Regions from separate parts of the Homo sapiens genome. Here region 2 is linked to region 1. The links are contacts of gene promoters, found by promoter capture Hi-C in blood cells and fetal thymus (Javierre and others, 2016). All regions are on one chromosome and are shown on one strand. Each heading gives the region's core, a stretch centred on a gene start or on the middle of the fragment in contact. The rest is flanking DNA. Distances are from core to core; before and after follow the strand shown.

Evidence for each region. The method cuts DNA at HindIII sites, captures the fragments that hold promoters and counts their contacts. A CHiCAGO score of 5 or more calls a contact.
Region 2: a contact is called between the fragment with the promoter of FAM76B here and the fragment with the promoter of MED17 in region 1, in 2 of 17 cell types (monocytes and non-activated CD4 T cells). The highest score is 5.6, in monocytes.

The regions. Positions count from the first base shown.
Region 1 is chr11:93,781,511-93,789,066 of GRCh38, reverse strand. It overlaps MED17 (mediator complex subunit 17), which reads right to left and starts at 4,785. Exons shown (of 12, transcript NM_004268.5): 1 at 4,304-4,785; 2 at 900-1,066. The coding sequence starts at 4,553. RefSeq lists enhancers at 2,001-2,500, 4,509-4,728, 4,670-4,964 and silencers at 4,053-4,247, 4,249-4,378. The HindIII fragment of the contact is 2,360 bases long and covers 3,784-6,143 here.
Region 2 is chr11:95,786,563-95,794,118 of GRCh38, reverse strand. FAM76B (family with sequence similarity 76 member B) reads left to right here and starts at 4,337. Exons shown (of 10, transcript NM_144664.5): 1 at 4,337-4,727; 2 at 5,556-5,620; 3 at 6,441-6,495. The coding sequence starts at 4,641. It overlaps CEP57 (centrosomal protein 57), which reads right to left and starts at 3,621. Exons shown (of 11, transcript NM_014679.5): 1 at 3,376-3,621. The coding sequence starts at 3,420. RefSeq lists enhancers at 2,713-3,376, 3,340-3,809 and a silencer at 4,310-4,729. The HindIII fragment of the contact is 14,564 bases long and covers 3,233-7,556 here.

The DNA.
Region 1 (7,556 bases), core at 3,536-6,035:
CTATTCACCAACTCATCTTCCTGCTACTTCTCTTTCATCTTCAAATGTTCAAAAATTGAATACACTGTTTATGAAATAGCAGCAATTCTACCCAGCTCTCAATATGCTCCATAATTTCGCCTAACTTTTCTAATCCATCCCTTAAAAAAAAAGGGAAGGAAGGATTAGATGGAAAAACAGGGACTTAAGAGAAAATAACTTGCTTAATTTAAGGTCACACAGTTAATGAAGGCAGAGGCAGGATTCGAATCCAGGTCTACCTGATTCCAAAGCCATTATATCATCACATTTTTGTGTAATATATCACAGACCAAGGACCCAGGCTATAAGAATTTGTTAAGATTTGGTAACCTTTAAAGTATTACATTCTTTTTTTTTTTTTTTTTGGGATGGAATCTCGCTCTGTCGCCCAGGCTGGAGTGCAGTGGCGCGATCTCAGCTCACTGCAACCCCCGCCTCCCAGGCTCAAGCAATTCTCCTGCCTCAGCCTTCTGAGTAGCTGGGACTACAGGTGCCCACCACCACGCCTGGCTTATTTTTGTTATTTTTAATAGAGACAAGGTTTCACAGCATTAGCCAGGATGGTCTCGATCTCCTGACCTCGTGATCTGCCCGCCTTGGCCTCCCAAAGTGCTGGGATTACAGGCGTGAGCCACCACGCCTGGCCTTAAAGGTATTACATTCTTAATGAAACTTAACTCTTCCAAGGATCATAGGTATATAATAAAAAAATAAAGGAAATGCAGTTGTATGGCTTTGTTTTAGACCAGTTAGTCTTTAAATCTTCATCTGGACTTAATTTTGCAAGAAAGGAAAATGGAACAACAGGCACAAAGCCAAAAAAGGGTCCTGGGATTTAATAAATAAAATTTTATTATTCAATTAAAGTCCACAAATACCTGTTTTGGAGGAAGTGCATCCTGAGAGACAGGATCAAGAGTCATAAATTTTTTATCCCTAACAATACTGAGAACATCATAGAGAACACACATCTCTGTCAGGGCACTTCTCAAATTGTTCCTCACTGAGTCCCAAGGCCAAAGGGAAGGCTGAAATTTTACCACTCCTAAAAAGAGAGAGAGAAAAAAAAGAAATACAGAAGTATTCGTTACATTGAATGGCAGACAGCTCACTTAGGTTTAAAAAGTACTAAAAGGAGAAATAATTAATTAAATTTCAAATTGTTCTCTTATTTATGCCATCTCCTCTACCGTTTCTTAAAACTTTGTTAACATTCACATTAGCATTCCTACAATCGCAAAATGAATATGACATCTATTTCCACAGGTTAAATTTATCATTACAACATTATAGACTCAAATCTCTTTTCAAATTTATGTAAACCTTTTTAATAATCTTCTTACAGTGTTTAGAACTTGAATTTACAATTGTACAAAATTTCCAAAATACAGAAAAGTACAAAATGAAAATGACCTGTAAGCCAGCCACTATTAGCATATCTTCCTTTTAACCATTAAAAAAAGTATTGTGATTAAATACATGAACATTCACTATATAGAGTTCACACAATAAAGAATTAGAGGGTAAAAAGTGAAAGTTTTCCTTCATTCCCCACCCGATTCTCTCCCCTCCTGAGAGGTAACCACTATTAACAGATGGAGCGTAGCCTTTCTTTTCTTTTTTTTTTCTTTTTGAGACAAAGTCTTGCTCTGTCACCCAGGCTGGAGTGCAGTAGCGCGATCTCAGCTCACTGCAAGCTCCACCTCCCGGATTCATGCCATTCTCCTGCCTCAGCCTCCCCAGTAGCTGGGACTACAAGCACCCACCACCACGCCCAGCTAATTTTTTGTATTTTTAGTAGAGACGGGGTTTCACCATGTTAGTCAGGATGGTCTTGATCTCCTGACCTCGTGATCTGCCTGCCCCGGCCTCCGAAAGTGCTGGGATTACAGACGTGAGCCACTGCGCCCGGCCCCAGTGAGTGTACCCTTTCAAAGGTTTTTCTATGCACTTACATACATCTATTTCCAATTTTCTATTACTTGCCTTTCCCCCGCCCCCACTTAATATTTCCTAGAGACACTTCCATGTTAGTACTTATGAGTCTACTTAATTCTTCTAACACTGTATGATATTCTGGAACATGGATGTACGGTATGTTTAACCACTTGTATTTAACGGACATGTAGATTGCTTCCAACAAGTAAACTGCTTCCAACAATGCTAGCAGTGGTAAACATCTTGAATATATACCCTGTATATGTGCAACTTTTTCTGCAGGTTAAATTTTTAGTCGTGGTAATAGTGAATCAAAGGAGATATACATTTAAAAGTTTCGGCTGGGTGCAGTGGCTCAGGCCTGTAATCCCAGCACTTTGGGAGGCCGAGGCAGGGTGGATCACCTGACATCAGGTATTTAAGACCAGCCTGGCCAACATGGTGAAACTCTATCTCTACTAAAAATACAAAAATTAGCCAGGCATGGTGCCGCACGCCTACAGTCCCACATACTAGGGAAGCTGAAGTGGGAGAATCGTTTTGAATCCAGGAGGCAGGGGTTGCAGTGAGCCGAGATTGCACCACTGCACTCCAGCCTGGCCGACAGAGCAAGACTCCATCTCAAAAAAAAAAACAAAACAAACCAAAAAAAGTTAAAATTAAATGTTGGCACATATTAAACTGCCAAATTGTCTTTCAGAATCACTACCAGTTCACATTCCTAACCCTGAATATTAACAATCTTTTCAATTTCTGTCAATTTTGTGCATGGAAAGAGTATCTTAATCATGTTTTAATTTCCCAGTCCCTAGTAATGAGATTGAGTCTATGTTCTGTTTATTGGTATCTGAAGTCTCTCCTCTATGAGCCTTCAGATACCTTTGGCCTATTTTTCCAAAGTGTCATTATTTTCTTTTCAGTCTGAAGGGACTTTTTGAATAGAGAAGATATCAACTAAATTTGTGTTATATGTGTAGAACTTCTCCCAGTCTGTCATTTATCTTTTTACTTTGCTTATGGCATCTTTTCCCATTATTTTTAAATTTTATGTAAGTAATATATCTATACTTTGTAAGGTAGGTAGGTGTGTGGTTGTGTGTGTGGATGTTAGAGTCTTGTTCTGTTACCCAGGCTGGAGTGCGGTGGCACAATCATAGCTCACTGCAGCCTTGATCTCACTGGCTGAATCCATCCTCCTCCCTCAGCCTCCCCAGTAGCTGGGACCACAGACGTGCACCACCACGCCCAGCTAATTTTTTTAATTTGTAGAGGCAGGAGCTCCCTATGTTGCTCAGGCTGGTCTTGAAGTCTGGGCTCAAGTGATCCTTCCACCTTGGCCTCCAAAAATGTTGGAACTACAGGTGTGAGCCACCATGCCTGTCCTGTTATTTCCGAAATTAAGAAGATCTATCCGACTCCCAGAATAATACAACTATTCTTTCATTATTTCTTCTAACACTTTGTTTTACTTTCTTCATTTGGCACTTCAATCCTCAAAAATTACTGTGGAAATAATTTTTGTGTGAGGTATAAAGTAGTATTTACCTTTTTTTGCAAATAGACCCCTAATAATCCTAACAGCACTGCCCTGAAATGACATCTTTAAATTCCCATTTACACTGGGTGTGCTGCATAACTAAATTAAGAATTTTGATTTTTTTTTCAAAAATCCTTGACAATAATGAGAATCTGAAACCCACTCATTATTTCTTCACTTCCCTCCTAGTCTCCTCCCTTCCAGTTTTGCTTTCCCTATAATTCATTTATTAGAAAGCATCTAGAGTAAACTTTAACAAAACCATCTCTACTTATCCTGCAAAAGCTTTCAGTGGTCTTAACACTAGTCAAACGCTTATCCCGGCCTACTGGGTTCTACATGATCTGGACCCGCCTACCTCTTGGACCTCGTCACACATTTCAGTCAAAACAGACCTCTTTTCTGCAGGTGCTACTATCATCATTCACACCGCACAAGGATGCAAAGTAACTCGCCCAAGGTCACACAGCCGGCAAGGGGCAGAGCCCCGATCTAGGGCTCTTTTAGCCACTAAGTGTGCTACATTAAAGGCCCTCTACAGAGAAGCATTCATTTAAACATTTCACGGTTTGACAGTGTCTCTAAACGCTGCCATTCAAGGAGACCCGCAGGAGTATTACGTAAAGTCGTGTCCTACCTTGTCCGGCAGCAACAAAAAGATGACGACCAAGTATCCTTACGCTTCCGCTAGAGGGACACTCAAAAGTTCTCGCACGCACAAGATCACCCCCATCGCGGGAGAGGCGGAGGCCCGCGCGGGTGCTGGGACCCAGACCGGGGGACTCGGGCAGCGGATGCAGGCCTTACCTTCCTCGTCGTCCTGGTCTGCGCTGGACCCGGCGCCCGGCCACTCCTGCGCGTCGCCCTCGGTCCCCGCCGCCTCCTCCTCCTCGGAGCCCGAACCCTGGCTGAAGTCTATCCGCTGGGCCAGACGCGCCAGATTCTGCGACATGGACAGCGGGGGCAGGTACGTCTCGGTGCCATCCAGGCCCACCTCATGGACCTGCTTCTCGCAGGCCGATTCGATGCTGATCCGCACTGCGCGCACCCCGGACATGCTGGCTGCGTCGGCCAGCGGTGGGAGGACCCCCCACGAGCCAAAAAACGAGGTACGAAGAGGAGGCTTCCCTGCGGAGAGCCGGGAACTCAGAAGCCCGCAGCCGCGGTGCCTCAGAAGACCCTCGGGAAACCGAACGCAACGCTCAGACTGGAAACAAAGGAGCTGGCCCAGCAACTTTCCCAGAACGCACCGCAAGCTCCCTCCTCGGTAAGTCTTTCGGAGCAAAACTGGGCAGGCGCGGAAGCTCCAGGGTTCCCTAGAGCGCTTCCGGTGAATCACGGTGCAGGGTGGGGTAAACTTCCGGGCCTATAAGAGGCGTGGCCGGCAGAGGGAGGGAAAGAGCGGTTTGGGAGCCGAGAGTGTGGCGGGTATATTCCTTGCTTTTTAAGCCTGCGTTTGTTTAAAAAGTGGATGAGGAAAGAAAGCTGCAGAGGCTAGAAGAGTTAAGGAAAAGGAAATTAATGGATCCTTGGATCTTAGCAATGAGAGTCCTGTTGAGAGAACTGAGATCTGGTGGCGCGCGCCTGTGGTCCAGCTACGCGGGTGGCTGAGGCGGGAGAATGGCTTGAGCCCTGGAGATGGAGGCTGCAGTGAGCCGAGATCTCACCGCTGCATTCCAGCCTAAGCAACAGAGTGGGATCCTGCCTCAAAACAAAAGTTATTTTAAATTAGCAAGAAATTTTTTAAAGAAACACTATCTGAAGAGTTAGAAATTAAGGGCATGGCTTGGGGGAAACAATCGTGCTTATCACCACTTAAAATTATACTACGTAATTATTTGGTTTCCTGTTAGTTATAACTCTATGACAGCCAATATCTGCAGCAGACATAATAGACTCTGGCATGTAGTAAGTGCTTAATATTTATTTTATGCCCGAGTAACAGAATAAATAATGTTGATCTCGCTTTTTTATTAGTGATGGGGTCCCACTATGTTGCCCAGGCTGAGTGCAGAGGTTATTCACAAGTGCTGTCAGCACGCTACAGCCTGGAGCTCCTGGGCTCCAACGATGCTCCTGCCTTAGCCTCCTGAGGAGCTGGGACTATAGGAGCGTGTCACCATGCCTGGCCTGCAAATAATATTTAAAAGATTAAGAAGAAGTGGTATAACTTCAGTCTTTGGGTCTCCAAGAACGTATTTCATTAGTAGGAATTCCACAGACAAAGATGGATTATTTTATATTACAAACCTCTATATTTCGTTTAAGGAATTATATATACCGTTTATCATGAGTGTTTGCCAGGTTTTGTTCTGACCAAGATATATCTAGGTTTTGAACTACTTTCCTAAGGTATTTAGGAAAATACGGTTGCCCTGGTGTCAGTCCCTGCTGAAGAAGAAAGTAGATGGCCGTGTGTGGAGGGGGTTGAATTTTCATGAGAGAAACCTATTTCTGGCAAGCTGTACAGTCTGTCGCCCAATCATGTTCGAGAACCACTGTACTTGCTTTTCGTGTAAATTTGTTTAAAAATTTTTTTTAACTTTATTTTAAAATCTGATTAATAGCCAGGCGCAGTGGCAGTCTAATAGTGCAGACAAAAACAAGACAACAACAAATGATTATGATTCCTAGAATAAGCAAAGCTTTTGCCACCAAGTCTTCAAGATCAAAACTAGCTGCTTAGCCAGTTGTTTAAAGATGTGTTGGATCTGAAAGGTTAGTTGTTAAGGTTTTCATATTATCCATTAACGTAGTGATATTATCTGATTCATCTGGGATACAGACATAACACACAGTTTTTATGATAATGCAAGTTCCTCCCTGGGCTTCGGTGAGTATGTCAAAAGCCATACGGTTTTGTAATAATGGCCTTTTCCATAAGAATAACTATTGTTTAATAATGGAATACTTATGTAGCTATCTTTTGGGTATAATTGGTTAGGACCTCTATATGCCAAATAACATCTTCAACACTCAGTTGTGGTATGAAGATGGAAGCTAAGTGATCATACCAATGAAACACAGGATGAACCCAATGAGATCATAAATAAGGAAAATTTGCAGGTTTTGGCAAAGTACAAACTACTCAAATATATGATTAAGCATAACCTGAAAAACATCATCCTAACTATCCTGGAAGTAACCATGGTCATAGGTTAGTGCCACATAGCCAAAATGTTCCATTTGGAGCTAATCAATAAATACATTAAATGGCATGCCAGTCAGTACTTTGTAATATAATGGTGTGAATACACAGTTCTTTGGGTATCCATGCCATATCTCCAGTGCTTTTGGGCCAGATATCTTTGGTATGATTTCTTTGTTCCCAACATAAAGGGGCAAAGTGGCCAGGCACGGTGGCTCACGCCTGTAATCCTCCACTTTGGGAGAATGAGGCGGGTGGATCACCTGAGGTCAGGAGTTCGAGACTAGCCTGGCCAACATGACGAAACCTCGTCTCTACTAAAAATACAAAAACTAGCTGGGCGTGGTGATGCATGCCTGTAATCCCAGGTACTCAGAAGGCTGAGGCAGGAGAATCACTTGAACCCAGGAGGCAGAGATTACAGTGAGCCAAGATCTCACCACTGCACTCCAGGCTGGGCAACAGAGTAAGACTCTGTCTCAAAAAAAATAAATAAATAAAAAGTTGGGGTGGCAAGGACAAGGTGGCTGGGCTGACAGAAGGAGGGATAAGCCAGATAAAACCATCCCCAATTTGTGTTATACCATTCTGAAATCAAGGTGTCTTATCTCTTAATTGGAACAGTGTCGTTGTTTCATTACTTAGTTGGGACAGTGCCAGCATTAAAGTTAACAAACTAGTTTCTTTTACTAAGAAGCTCCTTCCATGGCTTTTACTCTGTAAAGGTTTTGTTTCGTTTTGTTTTGTTTTGTTTTTGTTTTGTTTTTTGAGATGGAGTTTTGCTCTGTCACCCAGGCTGGAGTGCAGTGGTGCGATCTTGGCTCATTGCAACCTCCGCCTCCTAGGTTCAAGTGATTCTCCTGCCTTAGCCTCCCGAGTAGCTGGGACTACAGGTGCACACCACCACGACTG
Region 2 (7,556 bases), core at 3,088-5,587, 2.0 Mb before region 1:
CTATTTTACATTTCTGCAGATCTCTTTAATGTTTGCTTTAAAAAAAGAATGCTGGATTCTCTTATCTAGTTCTGCATTCGCTCTGTTGGATATGTTATTTTGTTTGACTTATTAAAGATCTAGTCTACCACAAACGTGGTCATTACAGAAGGATCTTGTAGACTCTGAGAGGGTCTTGGAGATCTCCAAGGGTTGTGAGACCATACTTCGAGAACTGCACTCTAGAGAAACATTTGCCATGTACAGCATATAACAATGAATACAAGATTGTTTCTAATATCTGGCAAACAAATGAACAGCAAAACCCATTAAATCCAAAGCCCATTAAGATACTGTCATTTACTAGCTAGAGAACTTTGACTCAACCTCTCTGTGCCTCATTTTGCTCATTTGAAAAAGGAAATATTAATGCCAATCTCAGAAGGTTATTGTGAGGATTAAATGAGTTAATGCATGAAAAGGGTCTTTAAGGATTATGCCTTGCCAGGTAGTCCTATATAAATACCATACATTATAATCTTAAAATACGTGGTAGTGGGTGGGTGTGGGAAGGAGAAAGAAGACACAGAGGAACATGAAGGTATTCATTTTATTATTCTCAAAAAGTAAATCTTATATTTAATATTATAAAATGTATGATAGCCATAAAACATTTTTAAGGGAAATTAATATGGAGCTACTGTGCAGCTTGGTCGAAGGACCAAAAGTCAGAGGGACAAATCAAGAGATTAGGTCATTAATCACCAAGGTTATTGTGAAAATATTACAAGGCTGACATGAAAGACATTCTTGTGTATTTCAACACAATGCTGCCCATACCTCCATATGGAATTAATTTCATTATGCCCAATCATAGTTGCTTTCCTGCCTTTTCCACCAGTCGAAGTTTATCAATTCCAGAGCAATCACTCAATAAACGTTACCTAGAACCTAACTGAAACCTATCGCCCTACTTCCATGCTGTTCACATTTGAGATTTACATGGTCACTGCTTCCCAAAGACGGTTATTTATGAATCTACTTGTTAAAAATCTTTGCCTGTAAAGCATCTCAATGTACTTATAACTAGCTCCGTATGAGTTTATCAATGTCGAAAACAGTTGAATATAACAGTTGTTAATCTTCATAACCGTGAAATCTGAATACGAGTTGTGTTCTCAGTTCATGGTATAGTTTTAACAAGTTTTTTTTTTTTTAAATGTTGCCTACTGTTAAGATCAGCTGTTTGATAAGCTAAGTGCTTTTCCAACGCTGTTGGAAATGGCAGCCTTATTTCTGATGGGACATCTAAGCAGGACGTTTTCTTACGCACCAAGAAACCAACTAAATTTAGTCATTTTTGTTTTGAGAAACAGTAACTTCCAAAATAGACATTTTGATGTAGCAGATTGAGTTATGGTTGTTATACTTTGATTTGTGGAGGTTCCTAGATATTCTTAGTGTACCCTTGATATTTAGAATCCTATTAAAGCTGAGCTTAGCACAAAAAAAATATGCTTTCCTAATGAACAGTCTTTGGTATTTCTGTCAAGGGTACCGTATAAGTATTAACAGCTGACTATATCCCAGTGCCAATGCTCACCTAGGTGTCCTTGGCATAGTGCAGCTCAATTAAACGTTTATTTAATATTTTATTTTATGGAGACAGGGTCGCTCTGTCGCCCAGGCTGGAGAGCAGTGGCACTATCATACCTCACTTCAGCCTCAGTGATCCTCCCGCCTCAGCCTCACTAGTAGCTGGTATTACAGGCATGAGCCACGCACCCAGACTCAATTCAACATTTGTAAGAGTATTCCTTGTTCGGTCTCCAAGTGCTTAACTTTTGAGAGCCGTGAAAAGCCCTCTTCTCCCAAGTTTAATCACATCTCCTATAAAATCTCATCCATCTGCTGACACTTCCAATAGTTTTTTACTTTTTTCTTTTACTGACCTAATCCTGAATAACCTTAAATTGCTGCTTTCCTTACTTCTCCTTAACTTCCCCAGACCTCTCTGCAAACTTCTAATTCCCATTCGGCTGAAACACTGTAATACTTCTAGTCCCATTATTACAAATTCTAACAAGTCTCCAAAAGCTGAAACTGACTTCTCCAAGGTGACCAGGCTTTCTTAGCGTTTCCAACTCTTTCCCCCTAGATCCTAGAAAATAACTTTACCCTGATACTCTTCTAGTTCCTTCCCTCACCATCCTTCTTTTTTCACGTTTTTACCTACGTTTCCAATTCACCTCATCCAGCTCTACCTCCGTATTACTTCTTCTCATTCCGAACTATCTCAAGTTTCCTAAAAGCACCTACTGTTCTAGCACATACTCCAAAATTCCCGCACTGCCTTTTTCTCCTTTCTCTACTCTTGGGACAAGCAATCACAATTCCTTCGACACGCAACTAGCTCCATCTTCCCTTCTAGGAAACCTTCTCTAGCCTACCCAAGCACTGTTAATCACTCCCCTCTAGATTATTCTACTACGGTAGCACTTCCTAAACTATACTGCGCAGTAATCACTAATTACGTGTAGTTTCTCTTCAGTGTTTTTCTCCTTCAAAGCAGGGTTTCTATTCTGTTCATTTGGACCCTAACAGTATACCAGGCATCGAACATTTGCTAACTGGAGAAATAAGAGCTCCAACATTTACTTCCTATCAAAGCTTTCCAATGCCGCGGTTTTCAAAAACCTAAGCATTCGACACTCCAATTTGAGAAATACCAGTGAATACCAGTAACTAAACTGGATGGTGACATTTGATGAGGCGAAAACAATATTTAAAATCAATTCCCCCTGTCGCCTCTCCAAAAGGGCATTTCCACATTGAAGTTCCAGTAATTCTAGGTGACAGGAAGCGCGCGTTCTGGCTACGAGCATCACACAACGAAGTTAATGTGGATGGGAGTGGGAGGCACTGCAGGGATAGGAAACAGCATAAGCAACGACTAGTAAGCGCTCGAGAGACGGCGGACTACTATTCTGCAACGTCTCTTAAACACACTGGCGCGCCTCACCTGATCTGGCGAGTTTCCTAGAGGGGCCGCTGAACCCACGTGACCAAAAGAGCTACATTTTTGCAGGCCAGGGAGTGGGCAGTTATCCCAGCCGGCCCTTGGGAATGTTAGGCAACCGGGGTTGGTTGCTACGCCAAAAGGTGAATAAGGGCTGGGGAACAGGGGCGGCCAGCCCAGTTTCACTGGGAGCCAGAGGGTGCAGCTTCGACACAGCCACAGTGAATGGAAGCTTGGGGAGCGCGGGGCAATCTAGGCATTCCCGCCGACCTCCAGAATTGCGTCAGAAGCTGGACTGACAGCGCCCTGAAACGTGAGGAAACTCAAAGAGGCGCTTAGGGCCGACGTGGGGCCCACTCGCGCCAACTGCTTCTTACCGACAAGTGAGAACCAGAAGCCGCAGAGACAGACGCCGCCGCCATCTTTCAGCCTGCCCAGGGGGTCTCCGCACTTCGGGGGCGGTCTAGGTTCTCGTGCTCTTCTCCAAGACTCGGGAGCCGCCCACCAGCGGGGACCCTAGGCTGAACCCCTGATGGAAAAGGGCAAGGGTGCTGGTGCTGGGCTTGGAAACCCCTGCAACACACCCCCTCAGGGCCGCCTACGCTCACAGCTTACACAGAAAGGGCAACACGTCCTAACGGACGTCTTTCCTAGCCAATCAAAACAGCAGACGTCTTTCTGTAGTAGGAGAGAATCCGCCTCTTCCCTGGTGACGTCACAAGGTAGCGCGTAACGGGGCCCGCTGGGGCAGACAACGCCGGGGTTACAGGCCGGCTCTGCGGGGATTCTACGGAGGGTCGGGCCTCCTCCAGTAAGAAGCGTGGGCGAGTAGTGGTGTCGCCAGTGGCAACTGAAGGGAGTAATGGAGATAAAACAAAAGCGAAGGCGAAGTTAAAGCACTCCACGAGTTCCCTCGGATTAAACGCCGGAGAGAGCGTGAATTTGCCTCGGGGACGCCTCTCCAGGTGAAGTATTTACCTTTTGGCCAATAACAAATAGGATTAGGAGGGACTTAACGATTTAGTCCAATAGAAAGCAAGGGAAAAAAAGTTGCGGCAGAGAACGAGCCTTTCGCGAACATTTGCTCAATTGGATTGGGGCGCTCTCAGCCAAACCTGGGACTGGCTGTTAGAAATAGCCGCGACCGCAGACCTTTGGGCGGGGCAGGTTCAAAGCGGATTTCGCGCGCTGAGAGCTCCGGGATGTCATTGGCCGGCGACATCCTCCCTTTGTGGGCGCTTCCTGCGTCGCGGAAGTTGGGAGTTGGGAGGAGCCATCGAATGACGCGATAGCCTTCGCAGCCAATCAGGGATGGGAAAGGGAGGCCGAGAAGGAAGCGGATCCACGGCCGCACAGCTAAACAGCAACCCCCTACCCGCTTCGTCTCCCTCCGCCGCTATCGGGGCCTAAGCGGGAGCGGCTGGCACGGCGTCACTGGGTGGGCTGGGGCGGAAGTGGAGGCGGAGGGAGACGGTGGCGTCGTCCGCGGGGCCCTGGGCTCTCGCGGCGAGGCCCTGGTGGGCGCGAGGCAGGGGGAGGGGGAGGAGGAGGAGCCCGCGGCCCGGGCGGCGGCGGCTCTCGGGTTCTCCGTAGGGCCCCGCCTCGGAGCGGGCGGCGGCGGAGGAGGAGACTGAGGAGCAGGATGGCGGCCTCGGCCCTGTACGCCTGCACCAAGTGTACCCAGCGTTATCCTTTCGAGGAGCTCTCCCAGGGCCAGCAGCTCTGCAAGGTCCGTGGGCTCCGGGAGGCGGGCGGGATGGGTGTCCTCGGCCGTAGCCGGAGGGGGCCGGGTAGCCGCTGCACTGCAGCCCCTCTTCGCCGGCGCCTCAGGGGTTTGGGAGTCTGGAGCCCTCGCCTCCCCACTCGGGGACCCCTTTTTCTGGGGGCTTGAACATTAGCTGGGAACGGACCCTGAAAGGGAGGCAGAATCGTGCCCTTTTCCAGGCGGCCCAGGAGGGTGCCGGGCCCCGTCAGCGTCTGGGGGTCTCAGGAGTGGGGTTGAGTGAGGCAGCCACCTGTCTATGCCGCAGAGACCCAGGGGTGGAGATGTTTTCATCTCGGTTTTCTGCCTGGTCTGTCCTCTTCTTCCACCAGGAGGCAGGGGACGGTTTTTGCACTTTCTTGCTAGGAACCCGAAGCCGCAAAGCTGATGGCATCCTTCTTCCCTGTCCAGGAAAGCGAAGCGACTGGTTTGGGAACAGAATGCTCTGATTTGGAGCTCCTCCCATCCCATTAAAGCCTGGATGCTGTCTGTGAGCAACGGTGCAAAATAATAAGTAGTTTCACATTTAACCAATCCTTGAAATAGGCCCTGACAGCTTTCTTAATTTGTCTGTAATATACCCCCACGTCTACTAAAGACAAAGACACCTGTGCCTTCCCTAAGGAATTATATTGTGATTGGCCACTTATATGATAAAGCATCCAGTTCTTTACGTTGGGGCCAGGTTTTATAAATGTTTTAGACTTTCACTAGGTTGGGTAAACAGTTTTCTACCAGAAAAGTGAGATTTGGGACTTTCAGAAAGATACTGACTAATGTATTGTCTTATTACAGGAATGTCGGATTGCACATCCTATTGTAAAATGTACTTACTGCAGATCAGAATTTCAACAAGAGAGGTTTGTATACTGAATAGTTTTTGACTGTTAAAGACAAGTGTTGTCTTTATGGAATACTTGGGGGTTGTAATCCCATGTTTTTATGAAAGTATTTTTAAAAAATGGTTTAGCCCCAGAAATTTTAAGTTGTAAACCTTTTATACATGGTGGGAGAGAGAATGTTGCGAAAAAAACCAGTGGTGGTTAATTTACAGTTAGACTTTATATGAGAGAAGGAATAATACTACATGGAAAATGTACAGCCTTGCTAATGAAAATGCAAATGTAAACAGTTATGTTAAACTAAAAAAAAATGGTAAAGCCTTAATGGATCTGAGGAAAGGTCTGTAGTGTTACCAACTGCCTTCCAAGGTGAAAATCTAATAATTTGTTACATAGAAGAGGAGTAGTACGTAACATTTTTAACAGTTCCACTCTGAGAGTATATACAGAAAGTAGCCTCAGAAAAGAACAAATAATTTCTTCATAAATAGGTGTGGGCATTATAATGTTGGACAGTAGCCAAGTGGAAGGTTAGGTAGGCACTGGTATTGTAATGCTGTGCAGTAATAGTGTCAAGTGTGAAGATTTTGGAGCTATATAGGAAACATTAAGATGTTTTGTTTACAAAAAGTAATATGCAATAAAAATGTATAAAAACATTTGTCATAAGTTAATTTGGGTAAAACAACTCTGAAAATATCCTTGTATATTTGAAAAAAATCCGTGGTCCTTATTAAAGTTTTAAGTACAACAAATCTTTGACTCATTTTATTTTGACATTGTGCTAATTACTTTAGAAAGCTACATAAACATGATCTATATACAATTTATTTTTCAGCAAAACTAACACAATTTGTAAGAAGTGTGCTCAAAATGTGAAGCAATTTGGGACGGTAAGTATGTCTTATGTTTTCATGTCATTGTTACCAGTTAATATTTTTCATAAAGCTGGACCTTTTAAAAAAATATGTACTGCTGGCTGGGCACAGTGGCTCACGCCTGTAATCCCAGCACTTTGGGAGGCCGAGGAGGGCGGATCACAAGGTCAGGAGATGGAGACCATCCTGGCTAACACGGTGAAACCCCATGTCTACTAAAAATACAACAAAAAAAAAATGAGCCGGGTATGGTGGTGGGCGCCTGTAGTCCCAGCTACTCCAGAGGCTGAGGCAGGAGAATGGCGTGAACTCAGGAGGCGGAGTTTGCAGTGAGCTGAGATCCTGCCACTGCACTCCAGCCTGGGGGACAGAGCGAGACTGCGTCTCGAAAAAAAAAAACTACTGCTATGCTCTTAGATATTTCAACATACCATATTTTATGAAAGACATTTTCTATAGATACTTTGATGGAAAGGTGATAACATTTAAAAACAGTCAAATTATATACCTGTTTTACATGTATTGAATCCAGTGTGAAATTTGTGAAGCTGTTCTTTAGAGATTCAAATATAGCAAATTCTTGGTTATGGAGAACTTATCCATAAAGTTTGCATCATCAGACTTTAGCCCACTTCAGAACAGCCTCCTCAGAACTATTTTTATAAAACAGCGCAATTAAAGATATTTATTCACAGAAGTCATGACCCAATCCTAGTACAAATTGTCTTATATGTATACTACAATCATTATAGGTATATTATACCAATATTATTTATTATTGGTCAAAAATGCTAACTTTAACGCTCTAAACTGCCCTGAATCATCTTTTGAATATCAAAGAAAATCAAGGTATGTTTTTATAGTTTATGTTGAATATGCTTGTTCTCATTTTTTCAAAGTTGAAAACTCACAGTATATATTCCTTATATGATTTGTACCTATATGTGATGAAAAGTTAACATTTTCTAAATAAATGATATGGTCATTAAGGTAACTAGGATATTAGTAGAAGGACGTTTCCTCAAATTCTTGATTCATGAGACTTCTCTACATATGTACCTTTATTTTCGTTCTTT